2 separate regions of the Homo sapiens genome follow, and region 2 is linked to region 1. Evidence: promoter capture Hi-C in 16 types of primary human blood cells and fetal thymus (Javierre and others, 2016). All regions are on one chromosome and are shown on one strand. The core of a region is centred on a gene start or on the middle of the fragment in contact, and the rest is flanking DNA. Distances in the headings are between cores, read along the strand shown.

The links. The method cuts DNA at HindIII sites, captures the fragments that hold promoters and counts their contacts. A CHiCAGO score of 5 or more calls a contact.
Region 2: a contact is called between a fragment that was not itself captured here and the fragment with the promoter of SLCO1C1 in region 1, in 1 of 17 cell types (M0 macrophages). The highest score is 5.2, in M0 macrophages.

Annotation. Positions count from the first base shown.
Region 1 is chr12:20,693,348-20,698,094 of GRCh38, reverse strand. It overlaps SLCO1C1 (solute carrier organic anion transporter family member 1C1), which reads right to left and starts at 2,763. Exons shown (of 15, transcript NM_017435.5): 1 at 2,288-2,763. The HindIII fragment of the contact is 4,383 bases long and covers 2,668-4,747 here.
Region 2 is chr12:19,669,809-19,673,929 of GRCh38, reverse strand. LOC101928387 (a long non-coding RNA gene) reads right to left here. Exons shown (of 7, transcript XR_007063236.1): 6 at 1,178-2,791; 7 at 841-924. Among named protein-coding and RNA genes, the nearest start is that of AEBP2, 230 kb to the right of the region's middle. The HindIII fragment of the contact is 329 bases long and covers 2,030-2,358 here.

The sequences.
Region 1 (4,747 bases), core at 1,514-4,013:
ATGGATAAGTTTCTAGCAAATATTCATTACCTATATTGATAAAAACCAGAAGAGAAAATAGCCAAGAAAGACATTATCAAAAATACTCTGAAACTATTCCCTAAACAAAGATACTAAGGATAGATGATGCACCAGAAGTGCTTTATCAAGGGATATTCTTTGAGGAAAGATAGCCGATAATGGAAACAGATAATCATTGTCTCCATTAGTTTGACAAAAATAACATTATCTTGGTAACAAAACAGCACAAAGATAGCACAGAAAGGAAAACTTCAGATCAAGCCCATAGATTATAAAAATTCTAAGTAAATGCTAGCAAATCCAAATTAACTCTTGCTCTATGATTAGAATTATTCTAAAAGATGCAACAATTGGTTAATTACAGGAAATTTATTCACCTAAATTACCACATGAATAATTCAAAATAAAAAATAGAATTTCATTACATGAAAAACATCAGTTGATAAAATTCGACATCTATTACTGATTTAAAAAACAAAGTTTAAGAAATGAAGAATATAGAGATTCTTCCTTAACAGTATCTGATACCAACAGCCAACTTCCTATATCTACTGAGTCACTAGGACTACTTTTCTAGAACAGTATTTTGCCAGGACAAGGAAAACAGGGTTTGGGAAATGCAGAGTTATACAATGTTAAATAGGTATCTTTACTACAAAACTATGAGTAAAAATATTGCCAAGCAAGAGATATACAAACCAGAAAGGTTTTAAAATAAGAAACGGATAATTATTAAATTTCTGGCTTAAATTGCAATATTCTTCAAAGGATTAAATTATATAATTCAAATTGGCCTTCTGTTTTTGGGGATTCAGATATCATATTATTTCTCATCAGTCATAATATTAAAGTCAGTGACCAGAAAATACAAATAAATTGTTTAATAATAAAATCTGCTATCATTTATCCTAAATTTATCTTTAAAAGATCCAAAGTGTTACATCTAGAATGCTAATGTCAAAGAGAAAAAATAATTATGTTAAAAACACTACTGAAAAACTTGAGATACTATAGCACATTTTAAGTTATCTAATATATGGAGGTGTTGACACAAAAATCACTGTAACTAAAATTCAAAAGTATAATGAAATATAAATATAGTCATCTCAGTTCACTTTGTGTTAGGGCAAAATAGGATCCAGCTTAAACTATTGGCACTGCATAGCTTTACTGAAGTGTCTTGATGGTTAATGCGCAAATTATTGCAAGTGTAGTATGTTCCAAGGAGGCTACAGTTCATCCCCTGTAAAAAGAGAGGGAAGGAAGCTCAATGACATGAACGGAAAGATCCTTGGGGCCTGCAGGCTCTCTCTCTTCATTTGCAACTGCAGAAGTAGAGCAAGAGTACACAGTTATTCAGAATTATTTGCATTTGGCAAATCCTTAATTGATCTCTGGCCACTTGAATAGATTCTTCCAGGAAAAGACATACGACAGTTTTCATCCAATACCCTGGGTTTGGAGCATAACTTATTCTGGAGGCCAAAGAAAAACAAGCCAAGCAGTTTCTCTTCCTTTGGTTCAAAAACATTGAATAATCAGTCCTCATTAGTTTCAAAATCAGCCCTCCAGATTTTAAATGGAGAGAGCAAGTGGCTTAGGAAGGTTGTAGTTAGATCCCGCAGATGTACTCAACCCCTCTGCTCTGCAACTGACTCGGACTCTGTCCAGCAATCAGTCCCCAAGGACTGCCACAGAGAAAGTCCTAAAGGCAACCACGCTCCTCCCTCTCTTCTCTTGGCCATCTCCTGTGAGGAAAACCTCTGTCCTGGCTTGACTTCTGGACACCAGGATGCCTCCCTTCAGACAAACTAAAAAATAGCCTCACGGCACTTGCTGCAGAGGAGTGTGTGTTGTTTAGAAACTAATTTCTCACCTAATACAAATTATCTGTGTCAGATTCAGATTTAATAAGTACTATTTTTGTGTTGAGTAATGTACGTACTTTTTCTAATCCTTAAAACAACCCAACAAACGTAATATTAGAATTCCATTTTTTAAATTAGATGGCCCAAAGCAATTAAGTGACTTGTCAAAAGCTAAACAATTTATAAGCATGAGACTCAAAATTTGAACTCAAATTTGAGTTTATCTGATTTCTTTAACCAATCTTCTCTCTTATTTCCATCAAACTAATGAGGGGATCATCACCTTTCACTGATATTTTTATGGATAAAACATAAATCGCACAGAAATTAAGGGTTAATCTCCCATAAGAATCTGATGTATTAGTCACAAAATATAAAATGAGAGAACCAAGTCTTACCTGGAGGAAGAGATCAAAGATAGCCAGTTCCTTTCAATGTGCTCAGCAAGAGGATGGACCACACACCACAGACTGAAAGAGGAAACTGAGGTAAACTCCACAGCAATTTTGAACAATTTTGCCAGGTGGGGAGAGTGTGGGTGGACACAAGCAGAGGAGATTAGGGAAAAGAAAAGATGAAGGGCATGGTCTCACCCCTGAGCGATCTCTTCTCTTTCCTCTTTCTTCCTGGCCTCTTTTTTCTGGCAGTCAGCAGAGAATTGGCCACGCTGGCAAGGCCACTGACGTGCATCTCAGCTCCCAGGGCACAGAAAGAGCTGAAGCTTTTGAGCCATTTCTTTGCAATTTGCTGCAAGTTTAAGGCCACACGTGATAAAGCTTTCTTTATGGGAGAGAGTGAATAAAAGAAAAGACCACTTGTGATCTTACTTGCTGATTCCCAGAAAACACAACTCCGCAGGGGGCAGAGGGTAAGGAACAGAAGCCAGAGGAGGGCGGAAGTTTATAACAGAGACCCCTCCTCCTTCCAGAAAGTTTTTAAGCCAACTATTCCTTAGGGACATCACTGGGATCCTTGTGTTTTCTTTGTTTGTGTGTTTTGGTTTTGGTTTGTTTTGTTTTGTCTTTAACGGTTCTTGGGCTAATTTGCTACATGGTTTTCTTTTCCATTGGTGTTCTAGAATCTTTAAGGACCAAGTATCAGGTCACAATCAAAGCTCTGCAGCGCTCTGTACAAAAAGAGTTAATTCTCAGAGACATGATCAGTTGCTCATATTTACAATTTCTATGAGTTTTGAAAACAGAAAAGAAACACGTTGAATTTTTGGCATTCAATTGTTTATTCTGCCTAATTCCAAGGATAAATAAATCCTTGCACTGAGAAAGTCCACAATTCTAATACATTCTTTTTCCAAGAGAAAAACTTTAGAGGATCTTAAGCAGTAGTAGTTTGCATTTATTTTCTACCAATAAATAAATTTGCTACCAGAATTATCCAAGATTCACCCTACTCTTAAGTGGCTGAGACTCTGGGATGGTCACTTAATTTTACTGAGTCTCAACTTCTTCCTTTGTAAAGCAGAATTTTTTTGTTTAAAAAAAAAAAAAACAGATTTATAGGGCTGTTTTAAGGATTAAATTATATAATGTATTCAAAAGCACATTGCAAATGAGCGGAAGGTATCATCATTTTATATATATATATATTTAGTTCACATAATGGTCAGAATAGTTAATATTATTCAAGCACATTTTACTACAAAAGAAAGAAAAGAAAATGCAAGAAAAATGGGTTTATATTAAACCTTGCAATGAAGCAATGGTGTTTTCACACTCTGAAAGGCCAAATATTTTACTTTAACAATCAAACCAGACTTTTCCATCGGAAATAGTGAGCAAACATCCGAATACATTGAGTGTTAGTCTAGACTTCTCAGTGTCTAACAGGTGGCCAGACCACTGTTTTATTCAAGAGGAGACAGTATTTACCAGCCCAAAGGGCATAATTTTCCTCACCAAGAAATGAAATTCTCCCTTGAGAATGTAATTTTGTCTATTCCCAACTGGCTCAGTCTCACTCTCCAACACGATTCCTTTTCTTATTTCCAGAGTCCACAGTTAATGTTACTGTTTTGAATGCACATAATGTTTACACTTATTCAGAGCTTCTTATGTGCAACCTTGCATTGGATTGTAGCCTACTTCAGCCTTTCATTCCCATTTCCAAACTCTAGATGAGGGAGTTAACAAACTTCTATAAAGGGACAAATAAGAAATATTTTAGGTTTTGTAGGACCATGCAATCTCTATCACAACCACTCACCTCTGCCATTCTGGTGGTAAATTAACCACAGACAACATATAAATGAATGCATTTCCTAAGACTGCACTAACAAAGTACTACAAGCTGAGTGACCTAAAACAGAACTTTATTGTCTCACACTTTTGGAGGCCAGAAGTCAAAAATCAAGGTGTCAGCAGAGCCATGCTCCCTCTGAGACCTGTAGGGAAGAATCCTCCTTACCTCTTCCACCTCCTGGTGTTTGCTGACAGCCTGAACTCCTTGTTTTATAGGTGTATCACTCCAACAGCTGCTTCTGTTACCACATGGCCATCTTCTCCCTTTATGTCTCTGTCCTCTGTACTTAAAAAAACGCTAGTCATCTTTGGCTGGGGACCACCCTCATGACCTCATCTTAACTTGATAAGGTCTGCTAAGACTCTCTTTTCAGGAAAGGTGACATTCACAGGTACCGGGGGTTAGGACTTCCTCATATCTTTTTGGGAGACACAATTCAAGCCAGTACACTCATATTTTCATTTTCCTCCTTACTTGAATTTTTTCATGCAATTATTTTAATCACTTCCTTCTGTATACCCTCAATTCTCCTGTTTCTCTTTCAATTTATTGATCTTCCCAGGCAAAGCTCACCTCAGATAAATCCACTTTCTTTCTTCTTA
Region 2 (4,121 bases), core at 945-3,444, 1.0 Mb after region 1:
ATCTTACAAACATAATGTTCAGCTAACAGAGACAGACCCAAAAAGTATATCCTCTTTGGTTACATTTATATAAATTCCAGAATCAGGCAAAACTATTCCACAGTTTAGAAGTCAAGATGGGCCCAGCACAGTGGCTCACGCTTGTAATCCCAGCACTTTGGGAGGCCGAGGTGGGCGGATCATCTGAGGTCAGGAGTTTGAGACCAGCCTGACCAACATGGTGAAACCCATCTCTACTAAAAATACAAAATTAGCTGGGCATGGTGGCACACACCTGTAATCCCAGCTACTCAGGAGTCTGAGGCAGAAGAATTGCTTGAACCCAGGAGGTGGAGGTTGCAGTGAGCCGAGATCACACCATTGCACGCCAGCCTGGGCAACAGAGCAAAACTCCATCTTAAAAAAAAAAAAAAGTCAAGGTGGTGGTTACATTTGGGGCTGTAAAGACTGGATGGTTATACCAGAATGGACTTTGGGCTTCTAATCATAGTGTATTTATTTTTCAGGGTATTAGTAACTTCCTTTGTGGAAATTGATAAAACTATGACCTGTGGTCTGTACACTTTTCTGTATATTTGTTATACTTCAATAAACGTGTATTTTTCCTCAAACATCCAAAGCATTTCACAAGAGAGAAACACTGATTTCTCTTCGCCTAAAACAAATGCGGGATCTCAAGAACCCCTAGCTCAGGTATGAAGCCAACTAAACCTTCACTCTCACAAATGACAGATGTCTCCAGCTGCAATTTTCGAAGGCTGATATATTTCCAAGGTTCAACCGCTCCACTTATGAGGATTTTTCCATACATGGTTCTGATGCTGATAAGATCAGACTTTGTTGGATTTCAGAAATTTATTTTCCATTTCTTAATTGCAATGGCAGCCATAAAACAATTGCAGAAAGACGATTTGCCATCCAAATCTTTAAAAAAAAAAAAAGGAAAGGAAAGAAAGAACAAAGAAAAAAACAACTTAAATGCTAATCCATCTGCATTAGTTGATCCCAGCATCCTCATTTTAAATTCCCATTGAATCTTATTGTATAATTTTAGTGTTTTGCAAAGAAACAAGTTTTTATGATTTCCTACAGGTTGGAATCATAGATATTTATCCCTTTATTCTTGATATTTCATTTTCAACATCAAAAACAGCGTTAATTCAGCTTCACATTTTACCAAATGTTATGTCGATGTTCCAAAACCGCCTGGCCCCAACTTTAATTCCTTCCCACTTTTGATTAGTCTATTCCATGAGAACCACAGCAACTGAAATTGCCTCAGAAGAAAAGAGAAAGAATTAGAGTTTAGTTACTGACTTTTCGAAAGTTCATGGAAATGAATATATAAACCAATCAGGTGATAAATAATTGCTGGTACAAAATGAGCAGTGCAAATGACTTCCTATTGAGATTTTTAAACTTTCTCTATGACTAAGCTATGGTAAAGAGCAGTGTCTACCAATTATAATTTCTAATAAAGAATCTGGCCTAAAAGGTTTTTTCATTACTTTTATTGAGCTATCTAGACTTCTCTCTATTTTTTACAATTGGTACAATTAATCTATAAGAGCAAATTTTAGTCATCTTCCTTTAAAGACTATGTCATTCTGATACTAATTTTATCTTATATCAAGATAAAAACCTACATAAGGAGAACAAAAACTAATAAGTCACAACTTGTACTTTCATTCAGAAAAATTGAAAAGAACATTTCTTATTTAAAGTAGTGGTAAATAGTTAGATTTTCTTCCACTACTAAAAGTCTTTACCAATAAAAATGTGCATACCTGTAATATATTCAGAATGCAGTGAAATCATAAAATCATAGATAAATAAAAAATATATTTACCTGCCAATATCTGTTTTTATTACTGACAATTGGGTAGGAAAACAATTTTGCAAGTCTGACCATTCCTTTAGAAATCACAATGACCCTAAAGTAATATTTTTCTTCCTCTAAGTGTTAGTAATTTCCATGGCAACTCTCCATCTGCTTTTCACTATTTTCACAGACTTTTTAAATTAAGCTTACATATGTCAATGTTCCAAGATTATCTTTGTGTTTGCATAAACCATATGGCTCTTTGACAAAGTTCATTATGCCATAACATTAGAGAAATATTTAAATGTCACATCTGTTATGTAAAAAAAAGAAAACTGATGTAAAATAGAAGTGAAGTTGGGATGGGAAGTACTATTTCTACAAATTCATTTGTAATCAATTTTTAAGCCAATGACTACAGGCTTCTCCTTAGTTTCTAAATCAGAAAAATGATTTAGATTCCAAGGAGAAAGTATCCTATACAGAATATTCTTAAGTTTATCCAATACTTAAAATGTATAGGAAATATCCAAGCTTCCCAATATAACCAGATATTAGCAGTCTCCATCACATGAATTACACAAGTTTTACTAAGGATTATATAAAAGGGTAAGGTCTCCTTTACACTATAGTTTCAATGTTTGCTCCTCCAAAACTCATGTTGAAATTTAATTGCTATTATAACAGCTTTAATGATGTGGGACCATTCAAAGGTGTTTAGGCCAGGAGAGTTCCACCGTCATGGGTGGAATTGGTGCCATTATAAAAGGGCAAGTTCAGCCCCCTCTTGCTCTCTCTCATCCTCTCACCTTCTGCCATGAAATGATGTAGCAAGAAGACCCTCGCAAACAGCCAGCATCTTGATATTGTACTTCCCAGCCTCCAGAACTCTGAGCCGATAAATATCTGTTCATTTTAAATTGTCAAGTCTCATGTATTCTATTATAGCAGCACAATGGACCAAGACACCTTTAAAAAAAAAAAAAAAAACTTACTAAAAGCCAGATGGGAGCTATGTGTCACACAAGTTTGGAACTTCTTTTCCCACTACCAAATCCTTGTCATAATGTTAATAGAGAATGGCTTCAAAAATAATTAGGACCATGAGAAGTGTCCTGTTTTGAAAAAAATTAAACTTTCATCCAAGATTTATTATTTATTCTTCAGTCATATGTGACTGAAATCTGCCACAAGATCTTACAGAGAAGAAAAACCAACAGAACCCTTAATCTTTAACTATTGAGACTTTGGTACTAAGAAAGGCAATTATTTTAATGGCTACATTTCCTACCAAAAAAAAACCATTAATTTTAAGAAGACTTTCTTAAAGATGCAAAAAAATAATCTTATATGGCATTGTCCAATGGATTATTTTCTTCTTTTTTAAGTAGGTAGATCAGTCTTGCATATAGAGAAGGCACATGTTCGATGACTTCTTTAGAAGAGTTGAGAAGAATGTCACTGTTACAGCCTTATCTACCACTCTAACTTGCTCTTGAGCCCCAAATCTCTACTGTCTGCTTTTATCCGTTTAGGTCATTGAAATTCCCTGAAGAAATACTCACATCTGAGAAAGACAAACCATGACATGTCAGCTCAGTTTATTTGCATTTCCCTAGCAAAGAATAGTGTGCTGAGAAAATAGAATAAGTATGTTTCCATAAGATAGGATGCAAGTAGCCGGGTGCAGTGGCTCATGCTTATAAGCCCAGCCCTTTGAGAGGCCAAGGCAGGCAGATCGCGAGGTCAGGGGTTCAAGACCAGCATGGCCCATATGGTGAAACCCTGTCTCTACTAAAAAAAATACAAAAATTATCCGGGCGTGGTGGCGGGCGCCTGTAGTCCCAGCTACTCGGAAGACTGAGGCAGAAGAATCGCTTGAACCCAGGAGGCGGAGGTTTCAGTGAGCCAAGATTGTGCCACTGCACTCCAACCTGGGTGACAGAGCGAGACTTGGTCTCAAAAAAAAAGAGATAGGATGTTAGTGTCCCCACTGGAGCTCTACCTAGCAAGACCAGACTGGAGTAATCACCTACAGAAAAAGACCTTTTAAAAGTTGGGCAGGGAGAGTGTCATGAGCACATTAATTATCTGGAGCAGGCCCAAACATGAAATGACAAAGTAAGTCAAGTTTAACTTCTTTGAATTTGTTCATTGTTAGGCATGCCTTAATGCAGTGATGTTTAACTTTGTTTGTATGGCAGATTCCTTCCAGAATGTGATAGAGAGCTAAGTTTCCCACAGAATTTTCCCTTAAGGCATGGCTATAATTCATGTGATAGTATGTGACAGGATTTCC